Regions from separate parts of the Homo sapiens genome. Here regions 1 and 2 are each linked to region 3. Evidence: promoter capture Hi-C in human tissues and cell types (Jung and others, 2019). All regions are on one chromosome and are shown on one strand. The core of a region is centred on a gene start or on the middle of the fragment in contact, and the rest is flanking DNA. Distances in the headings are between cores, read along the strand shown.

Region 1 (3,596 bases), core at 320-2,819, 77 kb before region 3:
GTCCAGGTACTGCGCCCCTCAGCACCCTAGTCCTGAAGCTAGTCTTGAGAAGGAAATGATGGAGACAGAGATTGCTTTTCTTGGGTGCTGGCTACACGCCGTGCACTTTTTTGAGCACCTCACACATATTAACACCTTTTCATCCTTACAACAACTCTAAGAGTATGTAGGAACCGGAGGCAAGGCGAACTTAAGCAACTTGCCCAAAGCCACCTAGTAAGTGGCAGAGCTGGGATTCAAACCCAGCCTGGCTTTGGATTCCCTGCTCTAGGTACCCCTCATACTGCCTCTCACCTTCCTCTCACCTCAGCTCTGCCTTCCACAGATGCGGATGAGTGTGTGATATTCGGGCCTGGTCTCTGCCCGAACGGCCGGTGCCTCAACACCGTGCCTGGTTATGTCTGCCTGTGCAATCCCGGCTTCCACTACGATGCTTCCCACAAGAAGTGTGAGGGTAAGGACACACATGATCCCTGCCCCCACCCCAGGCCCACAGCTGAATAATGGCCCACCCAGCCCCTGCCAGCCAGTCCCATTATTGCTGAGAGTCCCCCTTCCTAGGGAGGCCGCCCACTGCAGCAGGCTGGTCCCAGGTGAAGGAGCTGTGGGCTGTCAGAGATTGTCCCCAGGAGGGCCTTCCAGGCTGGGCTGGGTTGAGGGGAGGGAGGCAGGGCACTAACTCTTCATTATCAGTGATAGGCAAACACCCTTCCCTGAGGGTGGTTGGTGGAAAGGCCACCTTGGCAATGCCCCACCCTTTCCTGCCTCCCCAGATCACGATGAGTGCCAGGACCTGGCCTGTGAGAATGGCGAGTGCGTCAACACGGAGGGCTCCTTCCACTGCTTCTGCAGCCCCCCGCTCACCCTGGACCTCAGCCAGCAGCGCTGCATGAACAGCACCAGCAGCACGGGTGAGTGGGCCTGAGCGTGGGGGAGCAGGAGAAGGGTACCTGGGCTGGGGGGCTCATGTGCCTCCGTGCCCTGTGCCACCAGAGGACCTCCCTGACCACGACATCCACATGGACATCTGCTGGAAAAAAGTCACCAATGATGTGTGCAGCGAACCCCTGCGTGGGCACCGCACCACCTACACGGAATGCTGCTGCCAGGACGGCGAGGCCTGGAGCCAGCAGTGTGCTCTGTGTCCCCCGAGGAGCTCTGGTGAGGGGGAGCAAAGGGGATACCCTGCAGGGCTGGGCCAGGCCCCAGGGAGGGGGATGCCCTCACCTTGGAACTGGGGATCTAGAAAGAAGGAGCAGAGCAAAGGCCCTGTCTTCCATCCCTGCTGTTTGGGGACAAAGTAGGGCAGGGGAGAGGTGGGGAGAGGAATGTTGCCAGGATCTCCCAGAGGGTACCAGTCCTTGCATGCTCCCAGAGACAAAGCCAGCCAGGCTTTAGCTGGCAGGAGCTAGAACCCAGCTCCTTCTCTCCCTCCTCCCTGACAGAGGTCTATGCTCAGCTGTGCAACGTGGCTCGCATTGAGGCAGAGCGGGAGGCCGGGGTCCACTTCCGGCCAGGCTATGAGTATGGCCCCGGGCCCGATGACCTGCACTACAGCATCTATGGCCCAGATGGGGCCCCCTTCTACAACTACCTGGGCCCCGAGGACACCGTCCCTGAGCCTGCCTTCCCCAACACAGCCGGTCACTCAGCGGACCGCACACCCATCCTTGAGTCTCCTTTGCAGCCCTCAGAACTCCAGCCCCACTACGTGGCCAGCCATCCAGGTCTGTGTTGCTGCAAAACTGGGGAAGAGGTGGGCACCAAAGCTGTTTCACTTCCATCTCCTCCACCTGCTAGTCATATTGCCAGCAGGGTGAGGACTGGGAAGGGGAAAGACACACCAAGCCAGAGGTCCCCGTTCACGGCTCGCTTGAGACAAGTACATACGCCCAGGTCCGACCCTAACAACTCCGTCATAAACTATCACAGGGACACAAAAAGGTACAGGACACTGCCCCTGTCCCAACCTACAAGCTTCCTGTGGGGACTGAGAGAGAGAGAGAAAGCTGTTCACTGCAGTCTTTTTCTCCCTCCACGCCACCTACAGGCTGCAGAATAACCTGCTCTAAGGACACCCAGCATTCACACTTGTGACCTGAAGTGTGGATTAAGGTTTTCTAAGGACTTTAAAGGCCCACCGTGATGACTCGGTTTGTGAATGGTGCGATCCAAACACTCAGGCCTTGGAGTCTAATGAGGAAGTCAAGCCTAGCACTGTGCCATGCACACGGTACCCACCACAGGCAAAGCTACCACATCAGACTAAAACCATACCTCTGGGTAGGGTGTGGCCTTTTCCATGGGGTGGAGGGGTGCTTAGGGAGTGAAGAGGGTTAGGTAGATCTGGTCAATGTTTTGCTTTGTGTTGAGTGAGGCCCCTCTGCTACCAATTGTTCCCCACTTCCCAAAAACACGATGTGAAGGTTTAAACAAAACACCTCACCCCTTCCCCACGCCCAAACCCAAAAACTATGTAGCAACACACTCCTCGACCACCCAAACCCCAGCAGGAGCCGGGCATTGTGGAAGCAGCGAGTCTCAGCCTCCCTGGAGCCCTCATTTGAAGCCCAGAGCACCTCTCCCCATCTAAAATGACACATACTTTTTTTTTCAAGAGTACTGCCTTTTGTTCTAGCATCTTTCCACAAGAATTTTATGATCCTCTCTGCCCCCACCCCCACAGTTCCACAGGGGCACCCTTTGTCCAGAAGGGCGAGGGTCCCAGCATTAGGGAGAGTCTGGACACAGCCCTCAGCCTCCTCCTCTCTCCGATTTCCTCCTCCCAGAGCCCCCAGCCGGCTTCGAAGGGCTTCAGGCGGAGGAGTGCGGCATCCTGAACGGCTGTGAGAATGGCCGCTGTGTGCGCGTGCGGGAGGGCTACACCTGTGACTGTTTTGAGGGCTTCCAGCTGGATGCGGCCCACATGGCCTGCGTAGGTAAGTGCAGAATTCTGATGGAGGAGTCAGGCTGGCCCACTGCCCACAGAGACGCCTGAACTCAGGAAGGCTGGAAGAGCCACTGCTGCCTCCTAGTGGGGCTGTCTGCATCAGGCTGGAAGGGAAGAAAGCGCCAAAGGAAGGTTTAATTATGTGCTTTAGAAAGCCCCTTCCGTGCAGGTTCCCAGACAAAAGACAAGGACAAGAGAGCACGGTCTTGGGCATGGTATGAGCTTGCTGCCCCCTGCTTTGTCCTTGAGTTGCTTGGTTTTGGGAAGTGACTTCAGCCTCTGGCTGTCACACTTAGGGTTTCACTCTAGGGCAGTGGCCAGGGCTTACTAACCAGAGAGGTGGAGGCAGCCAGCAGAGGCACCTGGGCTCCCTACAGCACTCTCCTTTGTTTCCTCTTAGATGTGAATGAGTGTGATGACTTGAACGGGCCTGCTGTGCTCTGTGTCCATGGTTACTGCGAGAACACAGAGGGCTCCTACCGCTGCCACTGCTCCCCGGGATATGTGGCTGAGGCAGGGCCCCCCCACTGCACTGCCAAGGAGTAGCAGTCAGGGGTCAGTGTGGCAACTACCTGGAAATGGCCTCCAGTCACAGGCAGGGGCCTTGAGGATGATTTCCTAGCTGGGAAGACACCGTGACATCAGG
Region 2 (3,692 bases), core at 1,123-3,622, 85 kb after region 3:
TTTTACACTTAAAGCACATCTCAATTGGGATTAGCCACATTTCAGATACTCCACAGCCACATGTGGCTGGTGGCTTCTATTTTAGCCGAGATAGCATGAACTCCATTTAATGCATGGGCGTGATTTATGGATCCAGTCTTCTACTGATGAACATTAAGGTCATTTCCATCTTTTGCTGATTGAACCATGCTACGGTGGGTAAGCCTGTACATGCATAATTTTCCACATGTACAAGTATAGCCGTACCTTCAAATTGTATGTGTAATAGTAATTTGTATAGATCTTGCAAATTTCCCCACTTAGAAGTTATACCAGGCCAGTCAGGCACGGTGGCTCACGCCTGTAATCCCAGCCCTTTGGGAGGCTGAGGCGGATGGATCACCAAGGTCAGGAGTTTGAGACCAGCCTGGCCAACATGGTGAAACCCTGTCTCTACTAAAACTACAAAAATCAGCTGGGTATGGTGGCATGTGCCTGTAATCCCAGCTACTCAGGAGATTGAGGCAGGAGAATCGCTTGAACCTGGAAGGTAGAGTTTGCAGTTAGCCAAGGTCGCAGCACTGCACTCCAGCCTGGCCACAGAGCAAGACTCTGTCTCAAAAAAAAAAAGTTGTATCAATTTACTTTCCCGAAAACAGTATGAGAGTACAATTTCTCCACCCTGCCAGTATAATGTGTTATCAGAAAAAGTGTTTTATAATCTTTGTCAATCTAATAGGTGAAAAATTATTCCCTCAGTATAGTTTTTTTGTTTTTCTCAGTATAGTTTTAATTTACATTTTTAAATTATGATGAAAGAGCATTTTTCATATATGTAAGAGCCTTTTAGACTGGCGTGGTGGCTCACACCTGTAATCCTAGAACTTTGGGAGGTCAAGGCAGGAGGACTTGAGCCCAGGAGTTCAACACCAGCTTGAGCAACACAGTGAGACCTTGTCTCCACAAAAGTAAAAAAGAAAAAGTTAGCCCTGTGTGGTGTCATGCGCCTGTAGTCCCAACTACTTGGGAGGCTGAGGAGTTCAAGGTTGTAGTGAGCTGTGATCACACCACTGCAATCCAGTCTGGGTGACAGAGTGAGACCCTGTCTCAAGGAAAAAAAAAAAGCCATTTGTGTTTTTTTCCTTTGAATATCCTTTGCCCATTTTCCTATTGGATTATAGCCCTTTTTCTTATTGATTTGTCAGAGCTTTGTACAGTGTGTATATGTGTGTATATATATGTACACATATATGCACACACATACACATATATACATTCACGTGTATGTGCGCATATACATATATACACGAATACATATATACACATATTTACATACACATACATGTATAGTTTTATTTTGCACAAGCCCTCAGAAATAAATGTAGGATATATTAAGACAGTCCTTGGTTGATGACAGGAATTAGAAATATTTTTTCTGAATTTGTGGTTCCTAGTTGGACTTTGAACCACAGTCCGAACAGATATGGTACAAATCTGTCTTGTCTTTTTTTTTTTTCTGAAGCAGGGTCTTGCTGTGTCACCCAGGCTGGAATGCAGTAGTGTAGTCACAGCTCATTGCAGCCTCGAACTCCTGAGTTCAAGGGATTCTTCTGCCTCTGCCTCCGCCTCTGCCTCCTGAGGAACAGGAGCATACCATACCCAGGCTGATCTCAAACTCCTGGACTGACGTATCTGTCTTTTCTTTAATGGGTTTGGGATTTGGTAAATTTTAATTTACTTTTATTTAAACTGTCAAGATGAGATGTCACAAAATTAAGGGCCTGGTTATTAAGGTGTTCAAACACCAAAATCCCAGTTTCCCAGCAATAACTAAACCAGCTTCCACAAGTAGACATCTTTAGTTAATATATACCTCGCTTTGAACAAAATTCAGATTTCAGAAGCAGAGGAGTTGGGGGTAATCCTTCACTTACAAAAAGACATGCGGCCAGGTGTGGTGGCTCACGCCTGTAATCCCAGCACTTTGAGAGGCCGAGGCATGTGGATCACCTGAGGTCAGGAGTTCGAGACCAGCCTGGCCAACATGGTGAAAGCCCATCTCTACTAAAAATACAAAAACTAGCTGGGCATGGTGCTGGGCGCCTGTAATCCCAGCTACTCTGGAGGCTGAGGCAGGAGAATCACTTGAACCCAGGAAGCGAAGGTTGCAGTGAGCCAAGAAGGTGCCATTGCACTCCAGCCTGGGCAACAAGAGCAAAACTCTGTCTCAAAATAAATAAATAAAGAGACATGCAATAGAAAAGCTTTAAAGAAGTAATTAACAATGTTTATGTTTAAATTTACAGCTTTCCAGGGGTTGTGTAAGTGGTGGCTCACCTGAACTTGCATCAGCTACTAAAAGCAAGTCCTATGTTGAACAGGACATTGATTGGGTGGTAAAAAGTCTAAATTTTGGAGTATGATAGGGTCAGTATTCCAGCTTTGCCCTGTGGGACATGGAGTAAATTACCTGGCCTCCCCAGATCTAATTGCTCTCTTAGAAAATGATGGTAACAACCCCAGAGAGGTTGCTGTGAGGATTAAATGGAAAAACTGTGAAATTCTTAGCACTGGTCTAATAATGAAATGCTCAGTAAATAGTGCTGCTATTCAGTTATTCTCTTCCCTACTCACCTTCTTTCTACAGAGATTTAAAGAATTCATCCATCTGTCCCATCAATTAATTCATTCACTCAATGACTTGTTAAATAATTTGTTATTTCAGCTGGGCACGGTGGCTCACACCTGTAATCCCAGCACTCTGGGAGGCCGAGGCAGGCGGATCACAGGGTCAGGAGATCAAGACCATCCTGGCCAACATGGTGAAACCCCGTCTCTACTAAAAACACAAAAATTAGCCGGGAGTGGCTGCGCGTACTCCAGCTACTCAGGAGGCTGAGGCAGGAGAATTGCTTGAACCCAGGAGGCAGAGGCTGCAGTGAGCTGAGATTGCGTCACTGCACTCCAGCCTGGGCGACAGAGCAAGACTCCGTCTCAAAAAATAAAAATAAAAATAAATTGTTATTTCATATAATTCATCATTCATTCAATCATTTATTTATTCACTTGTGCATTTATTCATACATTCAGTCATTCATTCAACAGATATTTGAGCTCTTAATATGTGCCAGGTTCCAGGCTAGCCCCAGGAATACAATGATGTCTACAGACTGAACTCTAGACTTTAGAGTGTGAGAGTTGAAACTCAAAAGGCTTCTCATTGGCCGGGTATGGTGGCTCACGCCTGTAATCCCAGCACTTTGGGAGGCGGAGGTAGGCGGATCACCTCTCAGGAGTTCAAGACCAGCCTGACCAATATGGTGAAACCCCGTGTCTACTAAAAATACAAACATGGCCGGGCGCGGTGGCTCACGCCTGTAATCCCAGCACTTTGGGAGGCCGAGGTGGGTGGATCACCTGAGGTCAGGAGTTTGAGACCAGCCTGACCAACATGGAGAAACACCGTCTCTACTAAAAATACAAAATTAGCCGGGCGTGGTGGCACATGCCTATAATCCCAGCTACTAGGGAGGCTGAAGTAGGAGAATCGCTTGAACCTGGGAGGCGGAGGTTGCGGTGAGCTGAGATCGTGCCCTTGCACTCCAGCCTGGGCAACAAGAGCAAAACTCCGTCTCAAAAAAAAAAAAAAAAAAATACAAACATTAGCTGAGTGTGGTGGCACACACCTGTATTCCCAGCTATTGGGAAGGCTG
Region 3 (3,681 bases), core at 724-3,223:
GCCCAGGAAGATTAGGCGACTGCCTAAGGTCGCACAGCCAATTAATGACAAAGGCGAGACTAGAACCTGGGTCTCCTGGCACCAGGCCAGGGCCCTTGATACAACACCAACAGCCTCTCTTTGAGTTTTCCCTCCAGGCAGCAGCATGTAATTATCAACATTAGTATTTAGAATTTATATGCGGCTTTTGCTTCACTGGCTTTTTTATTATCCTTTCAATTAGTATTTCAGTATGCAGCCCAGGCATGGAGCACAGCCAGGGTGGGGAGGGGAGCAGCAGAGGGAGGCCAAGGCCAAGTAGGTGGCCATGAGCCCCTGTGAGAGGAAGGCCAGAGAAAGCAAAGGTACAGGAGGGTGGCCTGACATCAGAGACAATGTCTTGTGTGTGTGTCTGTGTGTGTCTATGTGTGTCTGTGTTGTGTGTGTGTCTGTATGTCTGTGTTTTGAGGAGGAGGGTGTCTGTGAAGATGAAGTATGGGCCTGAGATGAGTGGTCCAAGACCCTTGCTGGCCTCAGGGGGCTTCTCACTGCATTATCCACTAATGGGGCAGAGACAGGAAGAGCAATAATATATTTAGCACCCAACAAGTTAAACACCAATACCAGCCCTGAGACAGACCCCAGGATAAGGGAGTTCTCTGTCCTGCCTTGAAGGGAAGGAGACCCAAGCCCCATGATGTGGACTTGCTCCTGGCTCCTACTGTGCACTCTAGGAGCTACACCGAACTGTGCCAGATGCCCACATCCTGTGGGAGTGAAGGAGTCCTGGAGTCCACCATGCTATGTGCTATAGCATCCTCAGCTGGATGCTAGGAGACTAGTGGATGCTAGTGGAATCCCACTGCCAGACCCTGGTTCCTTGTGTCTTCCAGCCCCAGCTGCAGCCTGCTCTGTGGTTTACTTTGCAAACCCACACTTACCTTCAGAAAATGAGAATACTCTCTCCTCCTGACCTCCTGGGACTTTGGTGAGACTCAAGACCTTGTGAAGGCGCTCGAAGAATAGGTTCATCCACTGGTAACACTCAAGATAGGGCATCCCCATGCAAAAAAAAAAAAAAAAAAGGAAACGCAGGTGGAGGTGGATAAAGAGCAGCACAGGGTGGAGACAAAGCAGCCAAAAGGCCTGCATTCGGATCTCAGGGCTCTTGCTGGGAAAACTCAGGGGGACGCTCACTCACTGAGTGCCTATTGAGTGCCAATGTGTCACGTATGTCATCTCATTTTGTCCTCATATGACCCCTCACTTTGTCCATGAGGAACCTGAGGCTTTAAGAGGTTAGGTAACTTGCTCGAGGTTATACAGCAAGTGGGACCCTAGGACCAAAACTTAGGTCCATGAGCTTTAAAACCTGTGCCCTTCCCAGCACAGCACTGAATCTCCAAATCACAGGATTTCATCCTTGTGAGCCCAGCGTCCTGGTCTGCAAAATTGGAGGGGGAAGGGGGACAGGGGGAGGGGGGCAGGGGGAGGGGAAGAGGGGAAGAGGGGCACTATATTGCCTAATAGAGTTGTTAAGAAAATTAAATGAGCTTATGTTGATTAAACACATTATCGGGCTTGGTATCTGGTATATAGTAGGTGCTCAATAAATGCTTTCTGTTTGTTTTTCTTTTTAGGGCAGATCAATGTTAAAAACTCAGGGCTGGCTTTGGAGCCTAGGAGCTCCAAAATGCTTCAAGAAGCCCAAGGGCCTCCCATCGCTCTGGGGTGCGCGGGAGGAGGGGAGAGAAGGGCTGGGAAAGAGGGCTCGGCTCCAGGAAGCGGGTACGCGGGTTCCAGCTGCGCGCCCCTCGCTTCGCCGCCTCCTCCGGGCTCCCCCGACTTCCCGCCCCGCCCCGCCCCGGAGCCGGGTCCGGAGTGCCTGGTGGGCTGATTCCGGAGCGTGGAAGGGAGCACGGAGCACGGAAGCGAGAGGGAGGCGGCGGCGGCGGGAGGCGGGAAGGAGGGGGACCCTCCTCGCTGCTCTCCCAAGTCGGCGCGGAGCCGCCTCGGGCCGGGCCGAGGGCTGCGCGGCGGCGGCGGCGGCGGGGCCCGGCCAGGATGCGGGGCTCCCGGGACCGCGCGGGGCGGGGCGGGCGGCGGCGGCGGGCTGCGGGCGGGAGCTGTCCGCGGTGCTGAAGCGGCGGCTGCTCAGGGACGCGGGGACGAGAGCAGGGGAGCCCTCCTGGGAGTTCCACCGCGACCGCGAGGCGGGGGCGCCGTCGCTCACCGGCCCATGCCGAGCCCCCGAGCCCCGCGGAGGAGGCGGGACCGTCCGCGGCGGGACAGGTAAGGGGCGGTCTGGGGGCGCCGCGGGAGCGCAGAGCTAGGCACGGAGCGGGGAGTGAGCTGGGGAGGGCACGGGAGCCCTCTCGGGGCTAGGGGCTCTGACTCCCTGCTTGGCCGCACCTTGCGCTCCGCCAAGGCTTGCACTTCGTCCCTCCCTACCCCTCATCCTGCAGGCTGGGGGTGCTGGGAGGGGGCTGATGAACTGGGGTCAAGACACCATAACCTCACAACATCAGGCCTTGACCCTGACCTCAGGCAGCTCCTAGACATCCTGCCTACTGACGGCAAGAAATACTGATTAGAGCCTCAGACTCCCTGGTACCCCAGTCCCCACCAAGGTTTTGCGACACTAGCAAAATCTGAGCAGGCTTCACTAAGCTCCCCTCTTCTCGCACCCAAACCTGTTCACCCAGGTGACTGAGGTGGCTGTGGTACCCCCTGCTCTGAGATTTCTCTGCCCTGGAAATGGCTCTTGGGCCAAGGGATTGGCTCTTGGGCCAAGGCCCCTTAGGATGGATTAACCCATTTCTTCAGGGAAGGAAGGAGGTCCTGGAAGATACCTCAATTTTTTTTCCTATGACACTCTTGACGCTCACAGAAGCAGGCAGGATTTGCATCACATCTCTTGGCGCATGAGGGCAAAGAGTCAGGGAACCTGGGTCCTGTTTTCTATTATGTGCTGGTGACCCTAGACAGAGCCTCCATTAGGAGTTCTCTCTCTTTCTGGCAAGAGTGCGCTGAATGAGCTCATTCAGGCCTGCAAAGTGCTTCTAGTTCTTCAGAGCAGAGTTCTCTATGACTGGCAGAATGTAGCGATCAAAATAAAACTGCGTGGAGGAAGAATTGGCCTACCCTTGTGGCTGACCACTTCTTTCTACTGCTTTATCCCCACCCTCCAACCCAACACAACTTCCCTACCCCCAGGGGTAGAAAGAGCACTAGAGTAGGAGTTCCTGGCTGGGTGCTGGCATTTACTGGCTTTAGCTAGTTCCCTAAGCTCTTTCAACCTCATCCTCCTCACCCCTGGAGTGGGGATAAGGTCACCGCTCTGCTCACCTCAGGGAACTGCCTTGGGGCCCAATGAAAAACAATGCACCTGATTGGAGGCTTGCCACCTGTACATCTCCATACCAGTGTGCGCTGCTGTCACTGTTCCCAACCCCTAGCCAGGCCTGCTGTCAGTGACCTGATTATTGTCACCCCTACCCCCTCTTCTCCCAGCATGGCCATGTCTCCCTTTGTCCTTGGCCACCGTGGGGTCCCAGAATCAGTGAAGCCAAACTTATAAACCTTAAGGAGAAAAAAGTGTGCCCTCCCTTCTTCTCCTCTTCCATCATCACCTATAGGAGATAATATAAGGTAAGAGTCTGACTCACCGGTTTTTATTTTTTCTCCCTAAGAACCACAGAT

Evidence for each region. Contacts are between HindIII fragments. The study calls those that stand out against the background at their distance.
Region 1: a fragment that was not itself captured here is called in contact with the fragment with the promoter of SYNDIG1L in region 3 in 2 of the 25 tissues and cell types used here (lymphoblastoid cells and small bowel).
Region 2: a contact is called between a fragment that was not itself captured here and the fragment with the promoter of SYNDIG1L in region 3, in 4 of the 25 tissues and cell types used here (liver, mesendoderm cells, spleen and 1 more).

The regions. Positions count from the first base shown.
Region 1 is chr14:74,500,784-74,504,379 of GRCh38, reverse strand. It overlaps LTBP2 (latent transforming growth factor beta binding protein 2), which reads left to right. Exons shown (of 36, transcript NM_000428.3): 31 at 326-454; 32 at 774-911; 33 at 994-1,161; 34 at 1,446-1,727; 35 at 2,790-2,939; 36 at 3,351-3,596. The coding sequence ends at 3,496. Among named protein-coding and RNA genes, the nearest start is that of ISCA2, 8.8 kb to the right of the region's middle. RefSeq lists enhancers at 1,177-1,871, 3,281-3,596 and a silencer at 3,300-3,594. The HindIII fragment of the contact is 5,883 bases long and covers 1-3,596 here.
Region 2 is chr14:74,340,052-74,343,743 of GRCh38, reverse strand. It overlaps a transcript of VRTN not described here. Among named protein-coding and RNA genes, the nearest start is that of VRTN, 6.6 kb to the left of the region's middle. The HindIII fragment of the contact is 9,025 bases long and covers 1-3,692 here.
Region 3 is chr14:74,424,502-74,428,182 of GRCh38, reverse strand. It overlaps SYNDIG1L (synapse differentiation inducing 1 like), which reads left to right and starts at 1,973. Exons shown (of 4, transcript NM_001105579.2): 1 at 1,973-2,271. The HindIII fragment of the contact is 14,133 bases long and covers 1-3,681 here.